Linked DNA regions of Homo sapiens: region 2 is linked to region 1. Evidence: promoter capture Hi-C in 16 types of primary human blood cells and fetal thymus (Javierre and others, 2016). All regions are on one chromosome and are shown on one strand. The core of a region is centred on a gene start or on the middle of the fragment in contact, and the rest is flanking DNA. Distances in the headings are between cores, read along the strand shown.

The links. The method cuts DNA at HindIII sites, captures the fragments that hold promoters and counts their contacts. A CHiCAGO score of 5 or more calls a contact.
Region 2: a fragment that was not itself captured here is called in contact with the fragment with the promoter of OR6C68 in region 1 in 4 of 17 cell types (M0 macrophages, neutrophils, total CD4 T cells and 1 more); the score reaches 5.9 in M0 macrophages.

Annotation. Positions count from the first base shown.
Region 1 is chr12:55,487,669-55,495,084 of GRCh38, reverse strand. It overlaps OR6C68 (olfactory receptor family 6 subfamily C member 68), which reads right to left and starts at 2,707. Exons shown (of 1, transcript NM_001005519.2): 1 at 1,769-2,707. The coding sequence starts at 2,707. The coding sequence ends at 1,769. The HindIII fragment of the contact is 4,433 bases long and covers 1-3,360 here.
Region 2 is chr12:55,254,475-55,261,890 of GRCh38, reverse strand. OR6C74 (olfactory receptor family 6 subfamily C member 74) reads right to left here. Exons shown (of 2, transcript NM_001005490.2): 2 at 5,266-7,416. Among named protein-coding and RNA genes, the nearest start is that of OR6C74, 14 kb to the right of the region's middle. The HindIII fragment of the contact is 4,681 bases long and covers 2,432-7,112 here.

The DNA of each region.
Region 1 (7,416 bases), core at 1,458-3,957:
TCGTGGTGTGGGAAAGGGATGACTAAAACATGTATTATCTATCTTTATGCATTTATGATCAACATAGGATTTTATTTTTCCTAAATGGCATAATGATGTATGTATTATCTTGCAAATAGTTTAAAATTTTTTTTTTGTTTTTTTTGAGTTGCAGTCTCGCTCTGTCGCCCAGGCTGGAGTGCAGTGGCATCATCTCAGCTCACTGCAAGCTCTGCCTCCTGGGTTCATGCCATTCTCCTGCCTCAGCCTCCCTAGTAGCTGGGACTACAGGTGCCCACCACCTCGCCCAGCTAATTTTTTGTATTTTTAGTAGAGACGGGGTTTCACCGTGTTAGCCAGGATGGTCTTGATCTCCTGACCTCGTGATCGGCCCGCCTCGGCCTCCCAAAGTGCTGGGATTATAGGCGTGAGCCACCGCGCCCAGCCAGTTTTTAAAAATTTTAATATCCTTCCATTATAAGATCAAGTTCTATATCATTTGATAAGTACTACATCTTATGCTGTAATTCCCTAATTGACTTACACATTGCCAAGTGATGTTCATTTGGTTATTTTCAATCTTTTACTATTACAAAATGACTGCAATGAGTATAATAATTGGCAAGTAGATTCTGGCATAAATCCCTAGATGTTGATTTCTAGATGAAATCTTATATGTACTGTTAGTAAATATAAATTCCAATGTTTTCAAGTAAATTGTGCATTGAGGTGTATGTTTTACTTTAAGTGTTAGCATACTGGCTAATATTGAACATACGAAAAATTTAGTTTGTGCAAATATGATGGGTGAAATGTATATCATGACTTTAATGTTTAAATCTGTGGCTAATAATGAAGTTGTGCATCCCTTCCTATTGCTATAGGTAATTTTATTTTTTAGTAAAATAAATATCTAATATTTTCTTGGTATTTATAGTAAATTTGTTGCCTTTTTTGATTCATAGAAACTTCCTACATATTTATTATATTAAGCCTTTCATGTTAACTGTACCATAAAGCTATTCTTTTACTTATGTTTTCTCTTTAATATTTTTCATGAAATTTTCTCTTTTTGCTGTAGATATTTTAAAGTTTGTTACTTAAATCTGACTTTTTTTCAGTGAGGCAAGGAATTTGTATCTTGATTAAGAGTGAATTCTCATAGACCAGGTGCAGTGGCTCACGCCTGTAATCCCAGCACCTTTGGGAGGCCGAGGTGGGTGGATCACTTGAGACCAGGAGTTTGAGATTAGCCTGGCCAACATGGTGCAACCCTGTCTATACTAAAAATACAAAAATTAGGTGGGCGTGGTGGCGCATGCTCTTAGTTCCAGTTACTTGGGAGGCTGAATCATGAGAATTGCTTGAACCTGGAAGTTGGAGGTTGCAGTGAGCCAAGATGGCACCATCGCACTCCAGCCTGGACAACAGAGTGGGAATCTATCTCCAGGGGAGAAAAAAAAAAAAAAAAAAAGAATGACTACTCATAGAAGTTGGGAAAAAAATAACTTCACACCCATATTTTAAAATTATCAGAGAAAATCAACTGGAAAGAAGGAAAAAAGAGTGGTTTAATCTGGTTAAGGATTAAAAGTGATATATTTTGTCTATCATAGAATATTATTCAATAATTAATTTCTCAGTACGTAAATTAATAAAAAATTAATGATTAAATGGCTATGCAGTCAACTTGATTGCTCTATAGACTAAGAAATTACAAAGTTGGTTATTGGCTTTATGAAAAATATGAAGCAGATCTTTTATATTGATTTATCAACTTAGGTACACTTTACTTTTTTAAACGAAATGCAATTTTTTTGAGTGAGTCATGAAAGGCTTGTTTAACTTGCTCATTCCTAAGAGTATATATGAAAGAATTCAACATAGGTGATATGGATGAAATAAGCACTGACACACCTTTATTAATGTTTACCTCTTCTTTTGCAGATGGCTTGATATAGATGAAGATGCAGCTGCCATAAGTGATGGAAACCACAGTAATATGTGAAGAACAGGTAGAAAAGGCTTTTTTCTTTTGTTGAACAGAAGGGAATTTTAGAATTGTTCTTATGATATATGTGTAGGACAGAACTACACATACAAGAGTGATAATAAAGGTTAATACAGCAGAGGCTACAACCATCTGCTCAATTAATGATGTGTCTGAGCATGGTATTTTCAGAATAGGCAATGCATCACAGCCAAAATGATTGATGACATTAGAGTCACAGAATTCTAGATGAAAACCTAAGCTAAGTGGTGGGAGGATAATCATAAGTGCTGCCATCCAACAACAAATAACCATTGTTTTGCACACTTTGTTGCTCATGATTGCCATATAATGCAAGGGTTTGCAGATGGCCACATAGCGATCATATGACATGGTAGCCAAAAGAAAAAATTCAGTTACCCCAAAGAGGTCTGCAAAAAATAGCTGAATGACACATGCATTATACGTTATTATTTTGTTCCCAGTTGAGATACTGTATAAGAATCTTGGAACACAGGTAGCTGTAAATGAGATTTCTAAGAAAGATAAATTTTGGAGAAAAAAATACATGGGTGTTTTCAGGTGGGGATCCAACATGGTGAGGGCGATAATGGTCAGTTTCCCTGTTACACTCAACATGTAGGTGATAAATAGAAACATGAAAAGCAGAACCTGCAGCTGAGGATCTTCTGTCAGTCCCAGAAGGATGAATGTTGTTATTGCTGTGTGTTTTCTCATTACTGACTTCTGCATTTTTCCAAAACTACATGTAAATGTCAGAGAAATTTGAACTGCAGCATTCAATAAAAAAAGCAGCTAATGATGAACACTCTCATGCATGTTTCATTTATCCAACATCATAGGTTTTACTTGTTGATCTGCAGAAGTTTATAGTGAGAATATAAATAACATATATGTACATGTTTTAGTACGTTGAGCTCCCTTGATCTATTTATACAAAATGGCCAAATAAGATTATTTTATAAATTTTAGTCAACGAACTATAGAATAACTTTTCTTTATTAATCTTCTATAGTAATTAATTTATAGTGTATTAAACATTTTAACTCATTCTGAGTTGTGCCTTTTTATTGGATTGCATTATTTTTTGAAATATGACTGTTTTTTATGCTGCCAAATGTTTTTCTGCAACTCATAAGCTACATTAAAATAATTCGCTTTAGTTTCATCTCTGTTTTAAAATTTGGGAATTGTAAAACCCTAAAATAAAACATACATCAGGTTCCAAACAAAACATTTCAATTCCCTCTAAGATGTATATTTATTTGCTTTTTGACTGCTTTTTAATTGTTGGTTATTCATTTTAAGAGAAAACCATCTTTTGACCCTAAGGCATCCACGTTTATAATTTTACATATCTCTTCTAAGCTTCATTATCTAAATCTTATATCTACTCCCTGGATAGTGCTGTGTAGTATAATATGATTATTTTTCAGTGCCCTTTTATCACAGTGCAAGACAGTTTTGATTATAATAAATGAACTGCTGAAAAATATAAAAACTATGTCTTCCTGCGTTCAGTTAGCTACTCAGATTAGAACAAGTTATACAACATGGATAAAAGTCAAGACAAAAATTGCTGAATATCCTCGCCATGACACAATATTCTCTCCTTTTTCATTTCCTTCAGATCTACATTCTTTGACTCTATTTCCACAGTACGCATTCGTTTCTCAATCTGTTACTCTCTTATTTTTCACCTCACCAGATTTTTAAAAGTGCTTAATCAGTTAACTTCCTGTGACTTAACCCAGTATAATCATAATATGACAAACACAAATCTCTTGCTATGCTTCAGGCAAATCTCTTGCTATGCTTCTCTTTTAAGTATATTACATATATAATTAATATAATCCTTAGGACAACCTGTGAAGTAGGGAGGTATATTATCTCCACTTAAAAAATGAAAAAGCTGATCGACAAAGAGGTAAAGTATGTGGCCATTGTTTCAGGATAGTAAGTGGCTAGAGAAACCCCAGAGTCCCAGTTCTTTAATCACTGCGCTGTGTTTGTGGTGAACACTTTACCTGAATGTTTTAATTTCATGAAGATAATATTCTGTCTATTGGTAATTGAAACAAAGCTGGGGTTACTACATAGTTTATTATCTAAACCAAGATACTTGAGAAGCACAGCGGGGGCAGTTAATAATTACGTTGATACAACTGGTGTAAACAGGGCTATCAAGAGCAAAAACTAAATGTGTGCCATTCTCTATACAATTACTTACTCCTTGATTCAGGTGTAATATTAGGGCTAATGGAGATTAAACTTTGCCAAAGTGCAACTGGCTAATTTTCCCCATCTTATTGTTTATTTCTTTTAGTATATTGATCCCTCAATGTTTCCTCAATATTTCTTTCAGTGAAATAATAAGACTGAAGACTAGGGACTCTGTTATTCTGGGCTAAGTTCAATAGCTAGGTAGAAGTTGCTGTTGTGTATTCTCAATCATATTGTTAGATATTCACAGGTTTCTAATTTGTAAGTAATGTCTTAAGAGCTTCAAATTTTCTTACCTTTATTAAATGCAAGAGAGATATAAAATAAGGCATTTTCTTATGGTTTTAGAATATTTCCCTCAAAAAGCCCTAATGCATCTACTACAAGAGCTTTAAACAATCAGTGTTTTTCCCTTTTTTGTCTAATCAAGTAAGCACTGTCTTCTGCTAGTATACACCCAATATACTGAGCAAAATCTCCATGGTAGAGGAACACCATCACAGGGCATGCATCTTAATCTAGGCTCAGGGTAGATAAAGCTTGCTAGGAAGCTAATACCCTTTTGAGAGAACATTATAATCAGAAGATGACTCTGTAACTCACACTTAGAACCTCTGTCCTGTTTTCTTCTTTTTCACTATTTCAATTTACCATCCAGTAGTTCTCTTGGTATTGGATTCAGCTTTGTTTGGGTCTTAAGACTATCTTTCATTTTTGATATTTTGCTTTCCCTGAATCCAGTCTTGCATAAATATTAAATATTTAACAATATCATCATATTCATATTGACTCAATACTGCTTTGCATATTTATTTATTTATTTATTATTTTTTATTTTATTTTATTTTTTATTATACTTTAAGTTTTAGGGTACATGTGCACATTGTGCAGGTTAGTTACATATGTATACATGTGCCATGCTGGTGCGCTGCACCCACTAACTCGTCATCTAGCATTACGTATATCTCCCAATGCTATCCCTCCCCCCTCCCCCGACCCCACTGCAGTCCCCAGAGTGTGATATTCCCCTTCCTGTGTCCATGTGATCTCACTGTTCAATTCCCACCTATGAGTGAGAATATGCGGTGTTTGGTTTTTTGTTCTTGCGATAGTTTACTGAGAATGATGATTTCCAATTTCATCCATGTCCCTACAAAGGACATGAACTCATCATTTTTTATGGCTGCATAGTATTCCATGGTGTATATGTGCCACATTTTCTTAATCCAGTCTATCATTGTTGGACATTTGGGTTGGTTCCAAGTCTTTGCTATTGTGAATAATGCCACAATAAACATACGTGTGCATGTGTCTTTATAGCAGCATGATTTATAGTCCTTTGGGTATATACCCAGTAATGGGATGGCTGGCTCAAATGGTATTTCTAATTCTAGATCCCTGAGGAATCGCCACACTGACTTCCACAATGGTTGAACTAGTTTACAGTCCCACCAACAGTGTAAAAGTGTTCCTATTTCTCCACATCCTCTCCAGCACCTGTTGTTTCCTGACTTTTTAATGACTGCCATTCTAACTGGTGTGAGATGGTATCTCATTGTGGTTTTGATTTGCATTTCTCTGATGGCCAGTGATGAGCATTTTTTCGTGTGTTTTTTGGCTGCATAAATGTCTTCTTTGAGAAGTGTCTGTTCATGTCCTTCGCCCACTTTTTGATGGGGTTGTTTGTTTTGTTCTTGTAAATTTGTTGGAGTTCATTGTAGATTCTGGATATTAGCCCTTTGTCAGATGAGTAGGTTGCGAAAATTTTCTCCCATTTTGTAGGTTGCCTGTTCACTCTGATGGTAGTTTCTTTTGCTGTGCAGAAGCTCTTTAGTTTAATTAGATCCCATTTGTCAATTTTGGCTTTTGTTACCATTGCTTTTGGTGTTTTGGACATGAAGTCCTTGCCCATGCCTATGTCCTGAATGGTAATGCCTAGGTTTTCTTCCAGGGTTTTTATGGTTTTAGGTCTAACGTTTAAATCTTTAATCCATCTTGAATTGATTTTTGTATAAGGTGTAAGGAAGGGATCCGGTTTCAGCTTTCTCCATATGGCTAGCCAGTTTTCCCAGCACCATTTATTAAATAGGGAATCCTTTCCCCATTGCTTGTTTTTCTCAGGTTTGTCAAAGATCAGATAGTTGTAGATATGCGGCGTTATTTCTGAGGGCTCTGTTCTGTTCCATTGATCTATATCTCTGTTTTGGTACCAGTACCATGCTGTTTTGGTTACTGTAGCCTTGTAGTATAGTTTGAAGTCAGGTAGTGTGATGCCTCCAGCTTTGTTCTTTTGGCTTAGGATTGACTTGGTGATGTGGGCTCTTTTTTGGTTCCATATGAACTTTAAAGTAGTTTTTTCCAATTCTGTGAAGAAAGTCATTGGTAGCTTTATGGGGATGGCATTGAATCTGTAAATTACCTTGGGCAGTATGGCCATTTTCAGGATATTGATTCTTCCTACCCATGAGCATGGAATGTTCTTCCATTTGTTTGTATCCTCTTTTATTTCCTTGAGCAGTGGTTTGTAGTTCTCCTTGAAGAGGTCCTTCACATCCCTTGTAAGTTGGATTCCTAGATATTTTATTCTCTTTGAAGCAATTGTGAATGGGAGTTCACTCATGATTTGGCTCTCTGTTTGTTTGTTGTTGGTGTATAAGAATGCTTGTGATTTTTGTACATTGATTTTGTATCCTGAGACTTTGCTGAAGTTGCTTATCAGCTTAAGGAGATTTTGGGCTGAGACAATGGGGTTTTCTAGATATACAATCATGTCATCTGCAAACAGGGACAATTTGACTTCCTCTTTTCCTAATCGAATACCCTTTATTTCCTTCTCCTGCCTAATTGCCCTGGCCAGATCTTCCAACACTATGTTGAATAGGAGTGGTGAGAGAGGGCATCCCTGTCTTGTGCCAGTTTTCAAAGGGAATGCTTCCAGTTTTTGCCCATTCAGTATGATATTGGCCGTGGGTTTGTCATAGATAGCTGTTATTATTTTGAAATATGTCCCATCAATATCTAATTTATTGAGAGTTTTTCTCATGAAGGGTTGTTGAATTTTGTCAAAGGCTTTTTCTGCATCTATTGAGATAATCATGTGGTTTTTGTCTTTGGCTCTGTTTATATGCTGGATTACATTTATTGATTTGCATATATTGAACCAGCCTTGCATCCCAGGGATGAAGCCCACTTGATCATGGTGG
Region 2 (7,416 bases), core at 3,523-6,022, 240 kb after region 1:
TCACTATTCTTTTTAGTGTTTCCATCACCTTAATCTCCGTTGGTACCTACCCAAGCTTTCCCATACTGAACCTCAATACCAAATCAGCAGTAACAGTCTAATAATGTTAGCAAGCCACTGCAGTTTTCCTCTGAGGTTTCGCTCTTGAGAATGGACCAGATAAAGTGAAAAGTGGGATATAGGAAAACAGAAGCAGAGAGAAATACATAAATATGGGTTTAGGAAATTGTATGTTGTGAAAGAAGTAAAGACAAAGCTGTATGAAAAGCTAGAGAGACAAGAAAGATTTTAGAGATAGGGTAACGAGATAGAGGAAAGAATTAAAAGAAGATTAAAATAGGTAAGTTAATAAAAATTATAAGGGTGAAATTTTTAGTAATGAAATTTCTCTGTGTTTTTGTTCTACATACTCACATTTCTTCTTTGTGTAAAATAGAGATTGAAAACATGAACAATTTTGAGTTCAGCATGGCCTTGAAAAAGGAATATTTGGTAAATTACAAATGCATAATGAATCATTGAAGAGTGTTGACACAAAATTTTAGGAGGCATATAATGATATTCAAATATCCAGATAATATGGAATTAAAGAGATAATAATAATAGTTAGCACTTTTCTACATCCGGTATATGTGATGAGTGAGACAGTGAGATCAAGAAACAAAATTGTTCAGGTTTACACAGCTAGCAAATTTGAGATCCAGTATTAAGATTGAGTTTATTTTCCAAAATGTCTTCTGGTACACAAGCAATTGTATACCAGCTATAGTGCATTTCTTAAAACAAAGCAATTAATGATATATCTAGGGAAAATTTTCTTCCTGGGCATTTTAATCACCAAACACATGAAATAAGTCTTTGTGATGTGCATGACATTATATAGGACTATGTTTTCTGTTGTGAAAATATCAATTTAATTATTTCCAATCACAGAAGCATACATTACTAAGAAGGCAGACACATGAGTAAAAATAAACATATGAAAACAAGTCAAAGCTGTTTCCAATAATATCTAGAGAAGTTTGCAGGAGGTAATTTGGATTCTAAGATAGGTCTTAGAGGGAGATAAGGAAATAAGACGAGTTATTCCTAGCAAAGGGAAAGCCTGAACAGAAACAAAGGGAAGGGCACATGCATGACTTCATTAGAAACAACGAGTAGCATTCTGCTATTAAAACCGTGCGTGTTAATAATGCAGGCATACGTGAGTGAAATGAAATGACTGTTATTTTTCCCTGGACATTGCTTTCACATTCATATAATTATGAACCAATCTGTCACAAAATTTTTCTTGTTTATACAAATTGCCGTAGAAGCCATCATTGTAGGAATCCATATATCTAAAACACCTAAATCAGAGTTTTGTCATGTTAGACCATTCCTTTGACCAACTTCAACCATCATACATATCAACTATTCCCCAACAGCACTGTAAAAATCATGAAACTCACTGTATAAAACCAAGAGAAGTCAGGCCTATGAATGCAATTTAAAGGTTAAAAAAAGGAAAGATTAAACTTTAATGGTAAAATAAGAACAAACCTTAATCACAACTTGTCTGAAAGGAAATATTTCCTTTAGCTTTTAGAAACATTAATTATTTTTATCTTTTTGAGTTATATTTCTTCAAAATTTTAAAATAAAAACATTTATATGAAACATGCAAAAAATTATTAAAGATATAGACAGATTTATTTAGACAAAAGCATCTCTGCTTTAACATTTAACTCTTTTATCATTATGCTGAATCAAGCATATTGATACTACATTTCTCTCTGAATGAATCTCTCTATCCCATAATCTATGATGATTATTTCTCACCTATAAATAGCAATCTTGGAAATGCCTTGTTTAGCTATTTTATTGCAGTTAGACTAGTGCATTAAAATTCCTCTTAACTGTATGTTAATTATTTATGTATTGAATGTTTTCCTAAGTAGTATTACACACAGTGCCACATAAAATTAATCAACTCTTGATCCCTTGGAGTTTTTATGCTTTCTGTGCCCTGAAGAAAAATAAAGATTATGAAGGATTCTCAGGAAAATATCAGATCCAAGAACACCATTTCCCAAAGGATGACTACTTCATATGTTATTCACATGTTCTCTCAAGGCACTAAATAACTTTAAAAACAAAATACCTACTTAAAAATAACTACATTAAACAAACAGTGTCTCAAGAGAAATCAGTGTAGATTGCCCCAATATGTGTTTGTCCTCCCATCTCTATGTTTTGAAATCCCAGATATATAGATGAGGATTTGGAAGCATTATATAGTATCATATAATGTTTTAACATTCAATATTCATCAAAGTGTATTTTTAAATATGATACTCTTTCTCAAGGGAAGTGGGGATATTTTGTGCATTAACCACAAAGAATAAAAAATGTACTGGGCCTTGTTTTTCTTGTTTAAAAGGTTGAAGCTTGAAGCTAAGTATACTTAGTGCTTATAAACATTCTTTACCTTAATTGAAATATTACATTAAACATTGACAGACATAAAAAAGAAAACTATTATTTTATGCGAGACTAAAAGGTGGGAATATAAAATGGAGAACGTAGCCTGTCATAGACAAAATCCACCTCAAGCTAAATGCACATCATTAATTCATCAGGTACAACTGAACATTTTATGTCCTATATAAATTTGACTTTCTTTTCTGCAAGTTATACTTTCTGCAGTCCTTGGGATATTGTCTAGTGGTCTGAAACACATTTCATTATAGATAACCATTTTCCACTTCTTCCATATTAATAGAAGTTTCCATGTCTTTGCCTTTGGTACAATTTATGGTAACCTTGTGGATAAATTCTGGCCAAAGGATGGAAACATAGATAGTTTGTGCAATTTCCCGGAATCATCCTTCATGTTCTTGTCAGCATCTCTTTTCCCCTAAAGGTGGAGGACAATGTAGAGGAGGCCCTAATGTGCACACAATGCACCCAATTCACAAATGGGGGACCCCAACTATATTAAATTCCCAGTCTTTTTAGAGACTACTTGCAAAGCTGCCTAACTTTTTCCCACTAGAAGACAATACTCTGGTCAGTAAAAAAGAAAGACACCTCTCAAAGGTGGGCACAACAATGTAGAAGACCAATTCGGAAAGTGTAAGTTTATGTAAAATAGGTGAAGGGTGAGAATCAATCAAAGAAAAGTGCGCCCAATGGGAAGATAGGTTCTCAATTCAGTTCAAGGATTTAACTTGTAGCTTGGCCTTCAGGCATTAAACTGTCTTCTGCTTGGAGGTGAGGTTTCACTGTGGACGTGCCCCTATCTGCCTAAGCATTTGACTACCTCCTGTCACTATCAAGTTACATGCAGATGGTGTAATAGTACCTTATTGTCACTATCAAGTGACATGCAGGTGGTGTAACAGTACCTCCTGTCACTATCAAGTGACATGCAGGTGGTGTAATAGTACCTTATTGTCTCTGTTATCCTGACAGAGCCATCTCTGTCTGGTAAAGGATGGAAGATGCAGCAGTCCATCAAAATTAAGGCTCTTGTGGCAGACGTAGAGTGGAAGTTTTCTTCTGGAGGAAAGGGCCCAGGATACTTCTTAAAGGCAAAGATTACTAATACCTCTCTCCATGGCCCCTGAGTATACAAGGTGTTTTCTCCTCATATGCCAGCTTTTTCTCTACCTATACTTCCTTCAAATCTGGGTTCTACATTCCTGTAGCTATAGCTTCACCTTTTTTTTTCTCCCAATCATAGCCGACTCATATTCAGATCTTTCATCTAGAAGAGTCAGGTAAATGAAGAAAAACGAAATTTTTTTTAAATTTCAACAAGTATCAAACTCTAATTTCTTAGGCCCCCTTGTGTCCAAATTACCACCTGGAAGGTATGGCACCAGCCTTATCTAGATTTGATCTTAGGGAAAAGAAAGGTACATCATTCTTTGAATGACTGAGGTGGAATTTTGAATTTTCAAAGTAAGTCTGTATAATTCCCAACCACTTTTATCTTGATCATTACCCTGGAAGAAGATGAGTAGTCAAGTCTGGGAACAGCTGCATTCAATGACCATACTGCTTTACCTAGGTGCATGGATCAGGAAGAGATGAGGAGGCAGAGGCTATTAGTCCTTTGCTGAATAGCTTGGACAATAAAAGTTGTCAAACTGTAGATGCTCTGAGGATCTAAAGACATGACACAGATAATGTCAAAGATCACAGTTGTGTGCCATAGTCAACTTATCAGTAACCTAAAACAGCATCTACCCGGTGAGGCACTACCAATAGACCCAAGGTAGTCAAGTTGCCAAAAGCAGGAGGAGGCAACATTCCTTGCAATATGGCCTACCCCAGCATGAGAAAAGCAAGTCAACTTTTGACAGGAGCTGCAAATATGCCATGCAATGATAGCATCTGCATTAGAAACATAGAGCCAAACTCTATCAGCAGCCTGATTCTAGTTATTTTTCTTATGAGAAAATGGTGTTAAAAACCAAGATCTGGGCACTGGGTGTGCTTATTGCTACTGGGCTGTTTTTGCTTCTAGACACTCTCAGGTGACAGAGCAAGGAAATATAGGTGTTTATATTAACCTACGCCTAGACACACAATGATAAATATTTTATAGTATCAATCTGTATATATATTAAATTAAACTTTAGTTTATACCGTCACCATGTTTAAAATGCCATCACGAGTCATTCCTTATCAGTAATCTCCCAATGCAGCAGTGAGATACTGGCTTCCATCATCTGCCATCCACTTGCTCAATCATTCAGTTCCAGTATGTATGTGTATTGGGAGAAAACTTTATTAACTTCACTGTATTGGTTATGTATAGTTCCTTTTGACGTTAGTCTTACTGACTCCACTTATTTCTCTTAGGTCAGCAACTTTTTACACTATGCCCTTCAGTGAGGTTGTGTCACACATTTGTAATATAGCTAAATTCTTCCACATTCTATTGTGATATCCCAGATTTTTTTTTAATTTTCACACATTAGAAGCATTCTTTGTATTGTAAAGTTCTACTGGTTTTGACAACTGCACGGTGTTATGTTATTGCAGGATCTGGCCAGCAGTCCGCAATGCAATGAGGGGCTCTTTCTTTATTCCCAGGCAGATTGGCAGGTCGAGAAATAATAGACACACACAAGACAGTGAAAGCTGGGTCCAGGGGGGTCACCGCCTTCTAGTCCCGCGATGCCACTAATGCACTGGATATACCAGCATTTATTATTAAGTTTAGTGAGGGCGGGGCAGGTTAGTGAGGGATTTAGGGTCTTTTGATTATGAGGTGAGATGGTCACATGGGGATGAAGTAGTTCTTTAACATAACATCTGTATGCAGAAGTACAGTATACAGAGATAAGAGTTTACAATATAGTGTGTGCATCAGTAATTTCTAACAGAGCCTTAAAACAGAAACACAGTCTTTCCATAACCTATGATTAGCAAGTTATTAATCAGCAGTAACAGTTGCAGCAAAAGCTGGTTACAAACAATCCATAGAAACAGGAGGTGAAGCTAGACAACCGGTTAGACCGGAAAATATCAGAAGGGAGTATGCCTTACCCCCAAAGAGGCCTAGAAGAGCTGTGGCAAGATGAGGGCGTTTATAGCCCTATCTTATCCATATGAACAGGTGCCCCCCCAATGCGTCCATTTATAGGCTCTACACAAGGGTCCCATTCCATTCCCAGAGCTATGAACATCTGCTTTTCTGGGACAGGAATCTTGGTGATGTGAAACCTCCCTGACTGCATGTCCGTTCGTAGGCTCTCTGCAGGGGGAAGCACATCATGTGCTGTTGGCTCATTCTGGCAGTCCAACCTGGCATTGTCTTTACACAATCCTGCATGCAATTTTGTATTTACAATAATCAGGAGCATTTCACCTTTTATTCCATAGCAATAGTTTCAGGGGGTCTCCCTACATTATGTATTCATCTTTACATTACTATATAGAATAATTTTACTACCCTAACCAAAGATTCCCTATGCTTCCTCGTTTAATCCTTACTCCAACAAAGTCCTGGCAACCACTGATATGTTACTTTCTCTATAAATTTATCTCTACCAGAATATTATATAAATGAAATTAAATAATTTATAGCCTTTTAAGTCTGCCTAGTTTCATTGAGAAATATGCATTTAAAATTCTTCTCTGTCATTGTTCAACTCCCACTTATGAGTGAGAACATGCGGTGTTTGGTTTTCTGTTCTTGTGTTAGTTTGCTGAGAATGATAGTTTCCAGCATCATCCATGTCCCTGCAAAGGATATGAACTCATCGTTTTTTATGGATGTATATTTTATAGTGTTCCATGGTGTATATGTACCACATTTTCTTTATCCAACCTATCATTGATGGGCATTTGGGTTGGTTCCAAGTCTTTGCTATTGCTAATAGTGCCACAATAAACATATGTGTGCATGTGTCTTTATAGTAGAATGATTTATAATCCTTTGGGTATATACCCAGTAATGGGATTGCTGGGTCAAATGGTATTTCTAGTTCTAGATCCTTGAGGAATCACCACACTGTCTTCCACAATGGTTGAACTAATTTATACTCCCACCAACAGTGTAAAAGTGTTCCTACTTCTCCACATCCTCACCAACATCTGTTGTTTCCTCGTTCCCTTTGCCTCCCAGTCCCCAGGGGGTGCAATGCAGAGGGGGCTCCATGGGTAGAGCAGACACAATCAGTCTGTAACACAACTGTGAAATCCTGAACTTAGGGAACCCCCACTATTTTAAAGAGATAGCTAGAAAACCTGCCCAACCTGGCCACCCTGGGAGACATCTATTTTATAATCCTAGTCAGGAAGCAAATCTCCCTTCTGCCCTGGAGGGAGGTATTATTTCGATCTTTCAAGGCTGAATGATATTAAAACAACTTTGTAAAAAAAAATCCAGACCAAGCATAATATTAAATGTGTAGAAATGCCATGGAGAATTGCAACCTAACAGTGATAACTGATATATTTGGTACTACAAGTGGTTGCATGAAATAGATCCTTAAGAAGGGTAATTTATAATTAGTTAATATCATCTTGAAAGGTCTGAGAAGTGCTGCAACCATAAGAAAATGGAATATTACAAGTCTATGGCATCAAATATTATCACTTGGAAAGAAGCTTATATTTAAGGCTGAGCTTTCTCAAAGTAGATGTATAAGGTAAAGAGCACTGTGCTAAGCATGTGAAATACAAGTACTGCACATGCTATAAGGCTATAACATGGTAAGATCCATATTGAGGATCTTAAAGAAAGAAAATTACAAGGTTGTATCCTTTAATTATTATCTTGAATTATACAATAATCAGCAAATCATGAAGTTCCCATGACTGTCCTAAATAAATTTATCTCTTAAATCCTCATGTCACTTGGTGCTGAAAACAAAGGTAGGCTCTGATCTCGCAGTTTATTATACAGCAATATTG